Regions from separate parts of the Homo sapiens genome. Here region 2 is linked to region 1. Evidence: promoter capture Hi-C in human tissues and cell types (Jung and others, 2019). All regions are on one chromosome and are shown on one strand. Each heading gives the region's core, a stretch centred on a gene start or on the middle of the fragment in contact. The rest is flanking DNA. Distances are from core to core; before and after follow the strand shown. Region 1 holds the start of SH3GL1 (SH3 domain containing GRB2 like 1, endophilin A2). Region 2 holds the start of NCLN (nicalin).

Evidence for each region. The method cuts DNA at HindIII sites, captures the fragments that hold promoters and counts their contacts. A contact is called where the count stands out against the background at its distance.
Region 2: the fragment with the promoter of NCLN here is called in contact with the fragment with the promoter of SH3GL1 in region 1 in 1 of the 25 tissues and cell types used here (lymphoblastoid cells).

The regions. Positions count from the first base shown.
Region 1 is chr19:4,398,593-4,405,335 of GRCh38, forward strand. It overlaps SH3GL1 (SH3 domain containing GRB2 like 1, endophilin A2), which reads right to left and starts at 1,955. Exons shown (of 10, transcript NM_003025.4): 1 at 1,732-1,955. The coding sequence starts at 1,776. It overlaps CHAF1A (chromatin assembly factor 1 subunit A), which reads left to right and starts at 4,048. Exons shown (of 15, transcript NM_005483.3): 1 at 4,048-4,222. The coding sequence starts at 4,171. RefSeq lists enhancers at 1,316-2,145, 3,808-4,505, 4,506-5,201 and silencers at 1,434-1,483, 1,544-2,053, 4,016-4,295. The HindIII fragment of the contact is 35,642 bases long and covers 1-6,743 here.
Region 2 is chr19:3,183,890-3,189,974 of GRCh38, forward strand. It overlaps NCLN (nicalin), which reads left to right and starts at 2,041. Exons shown (of 15, transcript NM_020170.4): 1 at 2,041-2,325. The coding sequence starts at 2,142. RefSeq lists enhancers at 1,119-2,001, 1,308-1,447, 5,456-5,959, 5,960-6,085 and a silencer at 1,958-2,527. The HindIII fragment of the contact is 11,170 bases long and covers 488-6,085 here.

The DNA.
Region 1 (6,743 bases), core at 705-3,204:
AAACTCCTGGCTTCAAGTGATCCGCCCGCCTCGGCCTCCCAAACTGCTGGGATTCCAGGCATGAGCCACCGCGCCCGGCCAAATTTGAGGCTTCTTGCATTCGAAATTGCAAAGTGAAAATTTTAAATGTGCCCAGTTTTCTGGAGAGTGGATCCACAGCTTTCACCAGATTCATGAGCAGTGGGCCCTGGAGTTTCCAAAAAAAACCCTTTATCTGTCCATATCAAATGCACTTAGGCTGGGATGCAGCATTCTACTTCTGGGAATTCATCCTATAAAACTAATCCCACTGGTGAGCAAAGATATTCACTGGCTATTTATTGTAGTAATGGTAACAGAAAATTCCGGTAAACAATAGAGATATCTATCAACTGACAACTGGTTAAATAAATTATGGTATATGTCATGGAATGAAATACAATGTACCCATTAAAAAGAGCCAAGTAGGCCAGGCAGGTGGCTTACGTCGATAATCCCAGCATGTTGGGAAGCCGAAGCAGGCGGATTACTTGAGGCCAGGAGTTCGAGACCACCCTGGGGCACATGGAGAAACCCTGTCTCTGCTAAAATTACAAAAAGTAGCCGGGCGTGGTGGCGCATGCCTGTAGTCCCAGCTACTGGGGAGGCTGAGGCAGGAGAATTGCTTGAACACAGGAGGCGGAGCTTGCAGTGAGCCGAGATTGCACCACTGCCCTCCAGCTGGGGCGACAGAGCATGACTCCCTCTCAAAAAAAAAAAAAAAAAAAAAAATCCAAGAAGTGTGGAGTATGGTCTAGAGCAGTAGTCCTGGGGGACAGGAAAGGAAGGGAGGAAGGAAAGAAGAGAAGGGAGGGAGGGAGAGAGGCAAGGAGGGAGGGAGGAAGGAAGGAAAGAAGGAAGGAAGGAACGAAGGGAGGGAAGGAGGACTGATTCTAAGGGGACACACGGTGATGTCTCAAGATATTTTTGGTTGTCACGACTTGGGGGTGCTCCTGGCCCGGAGTGGGTGGAGGCCAGGGGCGCTGCTCAGCACCCCGCAGTGCCCAGGACGGCCCCACCACGGAGAACAATCCAGCCCCAGATGTCAACAGTGCCGACGGAGGGGGAGAAATCCCGCTCCAGTGTGATCTCCAAGCAATGAAAAACACAGCACACAGGATTCTGTGGCATATGCTATCACAGGGTACGTGTTTTTAAAGGAAAGGCACACACGTATCTTAGGAAAGGGACATACGGAGTCGATGACAGTCGCTTGTCTCTGGGGAGAAGGGCTGGCTGCCCGAGGAGCAGAGAGGGGAAACTGACTTCTTCCTCTACCTTTTCAACTTTGTACCTTGCCCATCCAGAGGATTTTGAACGTAACTGCTCTAGACGCAACTTTTCCCTGGCTCTGGGTTATCTGGCAAGAGTCCTGTGTCGACAGCCTCGGGACTCCTCTCTTCCCCTTCTCTCCCCGCACCCCGCCTTTGCAGCGGAGAGAAGGAGGGGAGAGGTCCGCGTCCCTGGGCAGCCCAGGGTGCCTCTCCCCTCCTCCCAGGGGCTCTGTCCCCGCTTCTGGAGCCCGCATGGCGGGCAGGGCCTGGGCCACCTCGTCGCCCCCGTCCGTCCCTTGGTCTTCCCACCTGGCAGGGGACACGCGCCAACGTCCCCACCTCGGTCCCCCCGGCCCCCTCCCGGGCCAGGTCGGGCCTGGCTCCCTCATCCGGGCAGCCCGGGGCCCGGTACTCGGCTCCCGCCTGGGCCTGCGCTCACCTGGCTCGCCTTGTAGAACTGCTTCTTCAGCCCCGCCACCGACATGCTGCCGCCCGCCGCCGAGCCTCCCGCCCGGACCGCGCCAGCGACAGGCTCCCGGGCGCCGCCGACCCTCTGCGCGCCTCAGCAGTCCCCGTCGGCGCCGCCTCCGCCACCCGCTTGCCAGCTCCGCGCCCGCCCCGGCGCCGCCTCAGCCGCTCGCGCGCCCGCGCGGCCAGGATATTACATGGCAACCGCACGCTTCCGGTGCCGGCCCCCGCGCGCGCCCCCGGCCCCCGCGCGCGCCCCCGGCCCCGTCTGCGCACGCGCGCCCTCTGCCGGCTGAAGAGCGCACGTGCACATTGTCTACCGCGGGAGAGGCCGCCTCTGTCAGTGAGTTGAGCGGGGCGAGCCTAGAGGGGCCGTAGCAGTTGCAGCGCCCCCTGGAGTCGTGGAGGTGACCCTAACGTCTTGGAAAACGCGCTTAGTTTAAACCTGGCCAGGGAGGTTGGGAAGTAGAAGGGGCCCCTGCTTACGATTCTTCAGATTCCTGTTTACTCATCTTAGCTAAATCCAGTTCGTCTAAGTGTTCAGCCCCCTCCCATTTTTATTTATTTATTTATTTTTTTTTTGAGACGGAGTCTTGCTTTGTCTCCCAGGCTGGAGTGCAGTGGCGTGATCTCGGCTCACTGCAACCTCCGCCTCCCGGGTTCAAGCGATTCTCCTGCCTCAGCCTCCCAAGTAGCTGAGATTACAGGCGCGCACCACCATGCTAGGCTAATTTTTGTATTTTTAGTAGAGACAGTGTTTCGCCATGTTGGCCAGGCTGGTCTCGAACTCCTGACCTCAGGTGATCCAACCCCCAACCCCCCCACCAAATCCAGCCTCCCAAAGTACTGGTCTCACAGGTATGAGCCACCGTGCCCGGCCACCTCTCTTCCTCTCTCTCTCTGTCCTGTGTTCATCCATTCAGTTGCCCACGTGACACATCTAGACATCTAGGTCTGTCTTCATGCCTTGACCATACTTTCCACCAGTCCTCCCCTCCAATTCTTCCTTGTCATGGCAGCCAGAAAGATGCTTCTAGAATGCAATTCAGGGCCAGGGGCGGTGGCTCACGCCTGTAATCCCAGCACTTTGGGAGGCCTAGGTGGGCGGATCACGAGGTCAGGAGATTGAGACCATCCTGGCTAACACGGTGAAACCCTGTCTCTACTAAAAAATAGAAAAAATTAGCCGGACGTGGTGGCGGGCGCCTGTGGTCCCAGCTACTAGGGACTCCGTCTCAAGAAAAAAGAAAGAAAGAAAGGAAGGAAGGAAGGAAGGAAGGAAGGAAGGAAGGAAGAAAGAAAGAAAGAAAACCTGTTTCTACACTCACAGGCTGACACTGAAGTTCTCTGTTTTGTGTGAGGCTTTTAATCTGCTTGATCTACACAGTTCAATCAAATATTTATACATTCACTCAAACATTTATTGACCTGGTAAATATGATCAGTTACTAACAGGTCCTGGGGTTCCAGTGAGGAATGAGTCCTACCCTCGCCAGAACTAATGACAAAAGGCAGAAATTAATTCATTAGTCAAATAACAAACTAATAAATAGACACAGCTGTAATTGCTTTAAGGAAAAGAACAGTGTTGTAGGCACTTGATATTGTCAGGGTTGGGGAAGAAAAGGCTTCCTGGGGTGACGATCTAAGATCTGAAAAGTATAAATTAGCCAGGAAAAGAGCTGCGAAAAGATTGTTCTAGGCAGAGAAAACAGCATGTGCCAATTTCCTGAGGATTAAACCAGAAACGATCCATTTCGTCCATTTCGTTCACTCATTCTACATGTTATTTACTGAATGTCAAATACTTCCGAAGCGCTCCCCAGACTTCGTTTTATTGTTCTTGTAGAAAGCAATTTATAATTTTAATTGCTGTTGCTATATTTAGCCGATGTCCCATTAGGATAAACTCAAAACTCCAGGTTCCTCATCTAAATCCCACTTTCAAGTTGTCATCTGCGCCTTGCGTAAAATGTTCTGGTGACGTAAGAGCCTGGGCCTCCCTCCTCTTAGGGACTATCCCACGCGATCAGCCAGTCGCAGCGCAGAGCAATGAGCTTGACACCTCCTTCCTCCAATCGCAGGGCAGCTCCTCCCAGCCAATGACAGGCCTCCGAGGGGAAGCCCAGTCCCTCGCGGATATGTCAATGGGCGAGCCCTGGGAGGAATGGAAGTCACGGATCTCGCGAGGATGCCCCCGGCGCCCCTCAATTCCCGAGGCGGGCCGTCACGTGACCCGGGCTCGCCCAATTGGCGCGCGGACTGCGGGGGTCGCCGCGGTTCCCGCCAAATACGAGCGCGGCGGCCGCGGCGGCAGCAGCGGCGCGGGCGGGAGGGCGAAGAGCAGCGGCCGCCTGAGGGGAGCCCGCGCCTCCGCCGCCTGAGAGGAGGTCGAGCTGCCGCCGGGGCGATGCTGGAGGAGCTGGAGTGCGGGGCGCCCGGCGCCAGGGGAGCCGCCACAGGTCGGTTCGGGCCCGCGCCGAGGGGAAGGGGGGGCGCGGCGCGCGGCCTGGACGGGCCGAGGCGGCGATGGGAGGCGGACGGGCCTCCGGGCGCCAAGCCTGGTCCTGCGGGCCGGGCGTTCACCCCCTGGGGCCTTCTCATCCCCAGCGAGGGCCTGGCGTCCCCAAGGGCACCCTTGTTGACGTTATTGTTGTAGCCGCGACCATATTGTTTGTTTCCGGCGCTTTTGCGTCAGTTCGTCCCTCCAGGACTCTCTGGGGCGGTGGGTCGGAGGGGCCGAGAGGGGAAACTGAGGCCCAGGGAAGCGAAAGGGCTTGCCCTGCAGGTTACTGGATGCGTTTGTGTCCCTTGACCATGTTGGACCTTGCAGCGGGTGGGGAAACTGAGGCCCAAGGTCGCACGGGCTCGGGGACCAGTACCGATGCCGCTGAGGGTCGGGGTAAGCCCGGGTAAGAAGAGGCCCAGATGGTAGAGATGGCCAGGAGGGTGGGACTCCCGAGTTCTTGCTCCTTCCTGATATGCACCGTGACTTCCTCCTCCGTGTGCCTTGGAATGGGGTCTTTGGAGCCCACCACAGGCCTCCTGAAACGTGGGAGGGTGAACCAAGGAAGACCAGACTGTCCCTCTCCCTTGCTGGACTCTGCATTACATAACGCTTTGGCAGCACTTGGCATTACGCTTTGGCACATAGTAGGTGCTCAGTAAATAACGTGAACGAATGAAGGGCTAGAATGGACGCCAGTCCAGTTTCTCAGCCTCAGCAGTGTTGATATTTGTTGCCGTCCTGGGCACGGCACTGCAGGGTGTTAAGCATCATCCCTGGCCTCCGCCTTTTGCAGGCCAGTAGCAGCCCCTCTCACCATGCCTTAGTAACAGCCAGAAATACCATTGCCCTGTGTCCCCTATGGGGCAGATTCCGCCTTGGCTGAAAATCATGGCTGTAGTTCCTTCTAGCCTGTGGGATTTCCCGGAGACATAAAATTAATATAAAGTTGGTACTGTCGTGGAGCTGTGATGTTTTAAGTCAGGATGTTTAACTTTATTTATTTATTTATTTTGAGACTGAGTCTTGCTCTGTTGCCCAACCTCTGCCTCTCTGGTTCAAGCGATTCTTCTGCCTCAGCCTCCCAAGTAGCTGGGATTACAGGCCTGCACCACCATGCCTGGCTAATTTTTGTATTTTTTAGTAGAGACGGGGTTTCACCATGTTGGGCAGGCTGGTCTCGAACTTCTGACCTCAGGTAATCCACCTGCATTGGCCTCCCAAAATGCTGGGATTACAGGCATGAGCCACCATGCCTGGCCAGGATATTTAACTTTAAAAAAAAAAATCGCTACTCGCTAGGACCATGCTATCATGAAAGGAAAGTATATTTTAGTGCCAAATAAAATTAGAAAGGATGTAATCGCAGAATAAAGAGCAGTTAGTAACTTTATACACACATATGTGTTAATCGTGTGTATCTTTGGATCTCTGGATTGGGAGTGTCCCGTTTTATATACAAGATTTTTTAATGAGGGTGGGTCCTGTTTTTAATGAGGTTGTTTCTGTTCCACTTGCACCAAAGCTAGTGACTCAAAGCCACACAAATAGATTTTTGTGATTGTCTCGAAAATAAAGTTAAGTGACTAAAAATCATATCCTTCAGTTAGGGGGTAGAAATCCATGGCTTTTGGTAAGTGGACACTTGAGAATGATACTGTCTTTATTTCTTTGAAGTGGCTAGAAAGGAAACATGAATTTTCTCAGTACCTTTTCTTATTCACTAAGCTTGGGGCGGTGGGTGAGGGGTGGTTTCATGTATGGACGATGGAGTTTTTTAGGAAGCCCCAGTCTGCTTTTAAAAAGTACTCACTTTTATGTAATGCTTACAAAACATACGTAGATTAACCAAAATAACTAAACTAGGTTTTGCCAAGCCAGATCTCCTGGTAAGTGTGAGCTTCCTAAACTTACTCTGTTTAAGGTATTTATCTAAAGACTCGCTTCTATTTATGATCACTGCTGCATCTGCTTTGATATTATTAGATGGTTTCTTGAGATTTTTTTTGCAGGAAAATATTTTGTCTTATCTTCTCTTGACAGCACTTCAGCTCCTGCCTGGCAAGCTCAAAGTGCTTTAAATTGTGGTACCTTCATGAATTCTCTTTAAAAAGAAAAGGATCCCTTTTCTGATTTTACAGATTTGGTGGTGGTATGGGGGCTTGGGTTGGAGGAAGATGTTTGGGGATCATGGGAATGAAATAGGTAATCTGATGTTTTCTCTCCTCCCTACTTTTACTCATTCCACTTTCATTTCATGAAACAGTTCCGGTTACTCTCTTAGTTGGCTTTCTGATTTATTCCAGACCCTAACCAGGTACCATAGGTGCAGCATGGAACAAGTCTTTCTGCTGTCATAGAGTTGGCATTTTGTTTCCAGAGAGACGTAATAAACACGAAAGTTTCAGATTAAATGCCACAAAGAAAATAAAACAAGACATGACAGTGTCTAGGGTAGGATTTCTCAACCTATTAAC
Region 2 (6,085 bases), core at 791-3,290, 1.2 Mb before region 1:
TTCCTGTTCTCTGTGTGTTTAGTGGGGACCACAGCAGGCAGGGTGGGGTGTTGGTGGAATTTGGGATAAGTGGAGTCTGGGCAGGCCTGGAGCTCTCTGTCTGCCTTCTGGGCCCGTGTTGGCTGACCCTGTTGCCCCCTCTGCCCTGCTTTGGCTGAGCTGAATTATTTCTTGGTCCTTCCCTTCTGGGGGCTTCTCGCTTAACCTCCTTTGTTGTCCCTGATAAAGGGGCCTTGTTAGCCCGCACCTTCCCTCCTTCGTCACTTGACTTCTGCCTGCTCATTCTTTGTACCTTAGTTTTAGCGTCACCTCCTCCAGGAAGTCTTCTTTGATTTCTCCTCCTCCCTAGGTCTCCTCTAGGCTCCCACAGCTGCCTGTGTTCCCTGCATGACAGCTCTGCTTTATACTGGGCACAACTTTCCCTCTTTCTTCACTCATCTGCTCTGGCTCATCTTTTGAGTTTCAGCTTAAGTGTCACCTCCTCCAGGAAGCCTCCTCTGATTTCCTCTCCTCCCTAGGCCTCCTCTGGGCTTCTCCCAGCTGCCTTTGTGTCCTCTATCCCAGCTCCCATCACCCCTGGTCACACAATCCACCTCCTCCTTTGGACTTCGAGCTCCGTGTCGGTGGATAGTGTGGCTTTGCTGGGGTCCCGGCTGTGTCCCCAGCACCCACCACACGGCTGGCACACAGTAGGTGCTCAGTGACCCAGCAGCACACTCAGAAACTCCCTTTCTAGCCGGGCGCGGTAGCTCACGCCTGTAATTTACAGCTACTCAGGAGGCTGAGACACAGGAATTGCTTGAACCCAGGAGGTGGAGGTTGCGGTGAGCTGAGATCAAGCCACTGCACTCCAGCCTAGGTGACAGAGACTACATCTCAAAAACAAACAAACAAACAAACAAACAAACAGAATTCTCACATGCTGCTGGCAGGGAGAGTGCTTGATTCTTTATCATTATATCTGAGGAAACTGAGACTCTGAGAGGTGAAGCGACTTGCCCAAAGCCACACAGCTGGGAAATGGAGGAGTTGGGATTTGAGCCCAGGCTCTTAATCGGCACCAATGCCACTTCTCACTTGGGACAGAAAGGAAGCCCTGACTCCTTAGGCAGCTGTACGGAGCCTGGGATGATAACGTGCTGAGAGCCAGGGCTACTGTCTGCTGCACCCTGGGGCTCAGTCTCCCCATCTGTACAAAGGGACGTTCCTTAGGTACCTCCAGCCCTGAGACACTGGGTTTTAACTTTAAATTTCTGATGAACAACAAATACTTTTTTAGTATAAGTATGCCCCAAATATGAATAAAGATAAATATAAATACCTGCCACCGACCCCTGCACAAACCGCAGGTTCCAGACTACAAGTCCCACAACCCACTGCGGCCTCCCTTAGGAACTGACTATCATGACTTTCTATTTTTCATTCATTCATTCAAAAATGGTATAGGCCACCCGCCGTGCGCCAGGTCTTGTGCTAGATGCCGGGGATACATCATATGCACAAAACAGACAAAAGTTTTTGCCTTCGTGGAGTTTGACATCTACATCCTCGGGAGTTTTAAGTGATTTTTGTTTTTCTCAGCAATTTCTGCCAGGACGACTACAGTTCCCGTGACCCTTTGTGTGTTTGACGGGACTACAACTCCCAGAAGACCTAGCGCGCCAGGCAGGCACTTCCTTTTCTCTTTATCCCCAACTTCCTTCCAGGTCGCAAGGTCACGTCCTGTCCCCACCTTTCGCCCCTCACCCTAGCTCCCCCAACGCCAAAGACAAGGTTAAGAAAGTGATATCGCGAAATAGTTTTTTAAAGCATTTTATTGCATTTTATGACTTGGAGTTTATGTGAAACCTCAACGGTATTAGCCGAACAGCCTGCCGCACCTTCCGGGAGTTCCAGAGTGGGCCTACAACTCCCACAGGGCTCCGCGAGCGCCGGACGGACGGACTACAATTCCCGACAGGCAGCGCGGCTGGCGGGGCGGTTCGCCGCGGTGCCCACAGGACCTCAGGGCGAGTGCGGGCTGCCCCGCGCGGCGCCCGCAGGACCCCGGCGGCTACCCATGCCGAGGTGAGTCCGCGGGAGCCGCCGCCGCCGCCGTCCCGTCCCAGCTGCCGCCCCGCGCGGCCCCGCCGCCGGCCAGGATGCTGGAGGAAGCGGGCGAGGTGCTGGAGAACATGCTGAAGGCGTCTTGTCTGCCGCTCGGCTTCATCGTCTTCCTGCCCGCTGTGCTGCTGCTGGTGGCGCCGCCGCTGCCTGCCGCCGACGCCGCGCACGAGTTCACCGTGTACCGCATGCAGCAGTACGACCTGCAGGGCCAGCCCTACGGTGCGTGTCCCCGGCCCACCCTCGGGGCTCCCCGGGCTCCCCGGCCACGCCACTCCGGCCCGGCGATCCCCAGGCCGATCCCTAGCTCCGGCCTGGGCTGCCCGACCCATGCTCAGGCCCCAGGCGAGGCAGAGCCCTGCCGCCCTGGACCCCCGGGCGCCCTGGAATCCCTGCTCTCCTTGCCTAGCGCCCAGGGACCCCCCGCGCTCGCTCCCACAGCCCCCGGCCCCTGCCTAGGTCTCCCTGCCCCGGAACCCATGGCCGGGCCAAGCGTCCCGCGTCCCTGGAGCCCTAAGTCCCCTCTCTCCTGTCCCCAGCTGGGCCGGCGTCTGCCTGCCTTGCCGAGTTTCTCCCTCCTGGGCCCCCTCCGCCCCTTAGGCTTCCTGGTCCGGGCTCACTTGAGCAGACGCTCCCGTCCTGACCTCCAGCTCCCAGGGTCCTGTTCTGGAGACCATCTGGTTGGTCTCTGGATTCACTGGGTCACGTCCGTGTTCCCAGGCCTCTCGCCTTTAGCTGACTGCGTTTGGAGTTAAAGGTCCCTGCACTGATTTCTGCCAGGCTGAGCCACCCGACGCGGTGGTCCAGCATTCCCCACCCCCTCCCACGGCCCTGGGTGCCAAGTGCATTTTGTCCAGTGCCCAAATTCAACTCCCCTGAATTTTCTCGCTCTAGTCACCGGCCCCCACGTCAAGGGCACATTTGTCCCCAGACCCCTGACGCTCTCTGGTCCCAGTTCGTGAGTCATGTTTCAGAATCTGCTAGCCCAGCTTCCCTGGTCTCCTCCCACGTCCCCAGTTCAGTCCACTCGCCTGGGGTTCCCTTTGACCCCCTTTCTGTCCCGCCTTTGATGCATACCCACGCCCTCAGCTCAGCCTCCTCACACCCACTTCCCAGAACCCCACTTGTTCCATCTTTCCAGGATTTCCTCTTCCCTTTCCAAATTCGCACCCCCTTGCCCTTGCATTCTGCAAGTCTCCCACTCAACAGCCTCGCCCCCTCCCGTCGTGGCCCTGACCCCAGTGTCTAGACCATTCCACATCCCCTTGTCTTTGCCTGGCTATAGCTGTCCCTGACATTCCAGAACCTGGTCCCTGGTTTTTCTTCTTTTCAGCCTGGCCCCTCAGGTCCCTGGAAGTCAAGGCCTGGCCTTCCCTGTGAAGGAGTCCCGTCCGCTTGTTCTCCTGGCCCCCTTAGTTCCCAGCCCGGATTCTCTTGGATTGGTCCCTCTCGTCACATCTCAGGCTCAACCTGAGGCGCGGGGACCCCCAGCTTCTGCCAGCCCTTGGGGAGCCCATCTCTGGAGATGGAACCAGACTTTGGCCTCAGGTCCCATTTTGCCCCAGAGTTACGATTTTTTTACTTAGAGCCATTGTTGTCAACCGAGGGGACGCTGGGTGATGTCTGGGGACATCTGTGGTTGTCACGACCACGGGTGCTCCTGGCATGGAGTGGGTGGAGGCCAGGGACGCTGCTCAATTCCCTGTAGTGCCCAGGACGGCCCCACCCCAGAGAACGATCCGGCCCTAATGTCCACAGTGTCCAGGGGAAGCGCCCTGGGGCCACAGTGGTGGTGTATAAACCCAAGGCCCAGGCTCTGGAGGGTGGGAGTGGAAGGCCAGAGGCTCCTCATGCAGTGACCGCGTTTTCCGTGCTGCTTGGGATTTTCCCGGGGGAAGGGTCCTGACGGGCACCATCCTGTAGAATCGCCTCCATCTTTGCTGCCTGGCACAGGAGCCAGCAGCCACAGGAGGCTGCCGAGCCCCCAAAGCGTGGCCTGTGCAACCGGGGGGCAGGATTTTCAGCGCTGCTTGAGGGTAATAAACGCAAGTAGCCACGCGTGCCTGCGGCTCTCATAGCGGCTTCCGTGGGGTTTCCAGGGCAGTCTGCACCCCAAAGACCCCACTCCTAGAGCTCGAGATACCCTGTTCACACTCTTGGCATCTCCTGCCTGGTCCTCCAGCTCACCCGGCCTCCCTCCAGCCCCCCGGGCAGGTGTGATCTGGTGGCTGCTACACTGTCCCTGGGCAGGTGTGGGCCCCCTTTCTCTCCCCAAGAACCCACCCAGGGAATGCATGTTGGCGGCTCCCTACACTGTCCCTGGGCAGATGTGGGCCCCCTTTCTCTCCCCGCAAGTCCGCCCAGGGAATGCATGTTGTCTATCGAGTGAGCAGATGTCTCCCCGTTCCACGGCCAGACGGACGCCCTCTCCAGCCTCCTAGAGTCCCTCCCAGTTTCCTTGTGTGGCCTCTTGTTCTTCGCAGCCTCCTGACGTTCACCCCGTTTTCCTTCCCCGATTCCCTCGGCCCCTTTTTGGTGGCGCCTCCCTCCCTTTCCCCTGCAGTCCTTTCTCTCTTTCCTCGCTTCTCTGGGGCCTTTGCCCACAATCCTGGGTTTTCTTCTGAGTCTTCTTTTCACTGGCCTCCTCCCCTGTACCCTCCTCCCTGGACCCCAGCTTTTCTTTCTCCTAGTGAGGAAGCTGGACGCAGCTTTCCCTGTATGTGGCATTCGCCCAGCTGGTCCGTGGGCTCCCGGGGTGAGCGGAGGAGCCCATGGGGCAGCCGCCCTGCCTCAGCCTCCATGCTCCTCATCTGCGCCCTGGGAAGCACAGTCCAGCTCTCGCAGGGTAGGCGAGGCCCAGCCAGCACACCCCTCTGTGTCACTCTGGCCGCCCCTGAGAGACTGGGGGTGGTTTGGGCCAGAGCCCTGCCGAGGACAGGCCCTTGAGAAGCCCCAGCGTGCTGCCTTTGAGGCCACCCTCCACCACCATCTTCCCGGTGTGCTTTCACCCCCGGGCCCACTACCCGGAGGAGCTGCAACCCTTACTCGCTGGGGAGTCCTTTCCCAACTTCCTTCCTGCTGCTGTTGAGAGGCACAGGGCGGGGCGGTGCCCTTTGTGTTTGGGTGTGATCTGGGTCTCACTGGCCAGGTGCACAGCACCCCTCTCCTGGGAGTGGACTCTGGCCCTGCCGGGTGAAGGCTTTCTCGGCTCGGTGGCCGTTCACAGCAGGTGGGGCTCGTTGAGCTTATGGCCCATGTGAGGTGGGAACCTTAGCACCCCTTGGAGCGCCCAGCTCCCAGGACCCGTCAAGTCCATCAGACTTGCCAAAACTCCTTCATCTGGGATACAGCTAACTGCAGCCTGTAGGTCACGTCTGGCTCTCTGCCTGTTGTTGTTAATAAAGTTTTATCGGCACGCGGTCATGCCCATCCATTGGCATCTTGTCGCTGGCTGCTTCCACGCAGAAACAGCTGAGCCCAGTGATTGTGCCAGAGCCCTATGGCCCGAGAGGGGAAAGGTTGGCCGTCTGGCCCCCGATAGATAGACAGGTGCCCAGGCCACTGTTCAGGTCCAGTCCTGTCACGCCAACTGGTGACTTCTCTCAGGATGCCCGGTGCCCTCCATGGCGTCCACCACAAGTGGTCTCAGCCCATTCAGACGCGGGTCTGAGGGAGTTGGTGCTGGTTTCGCCTCCGCAGAGGGCCGTGTCCACACTAGCTTGTGGCCACCCGGCCCGACCCTGGCCCTCGAGGGAGGCTGGGGCCACCCAAGGCCATCTGTTCTCCTGGGGAGATGGGCCTTGGCCACAGAGAGCCCTTGCCATTGGGCCCCGAGCGAGCGGGGGCTGGGATCCAGAGGGCAGTGTGGCCTTGGCTGGTGCTGACGCGAGGCGGGGCTCCGATGGGCGGGGCTTCGGAATGGGAGGCCGTGGCCTTCAGGGAGCTCTGGGTGCTGGTGTCCCCCTCCGTTCCTCTGACTTGC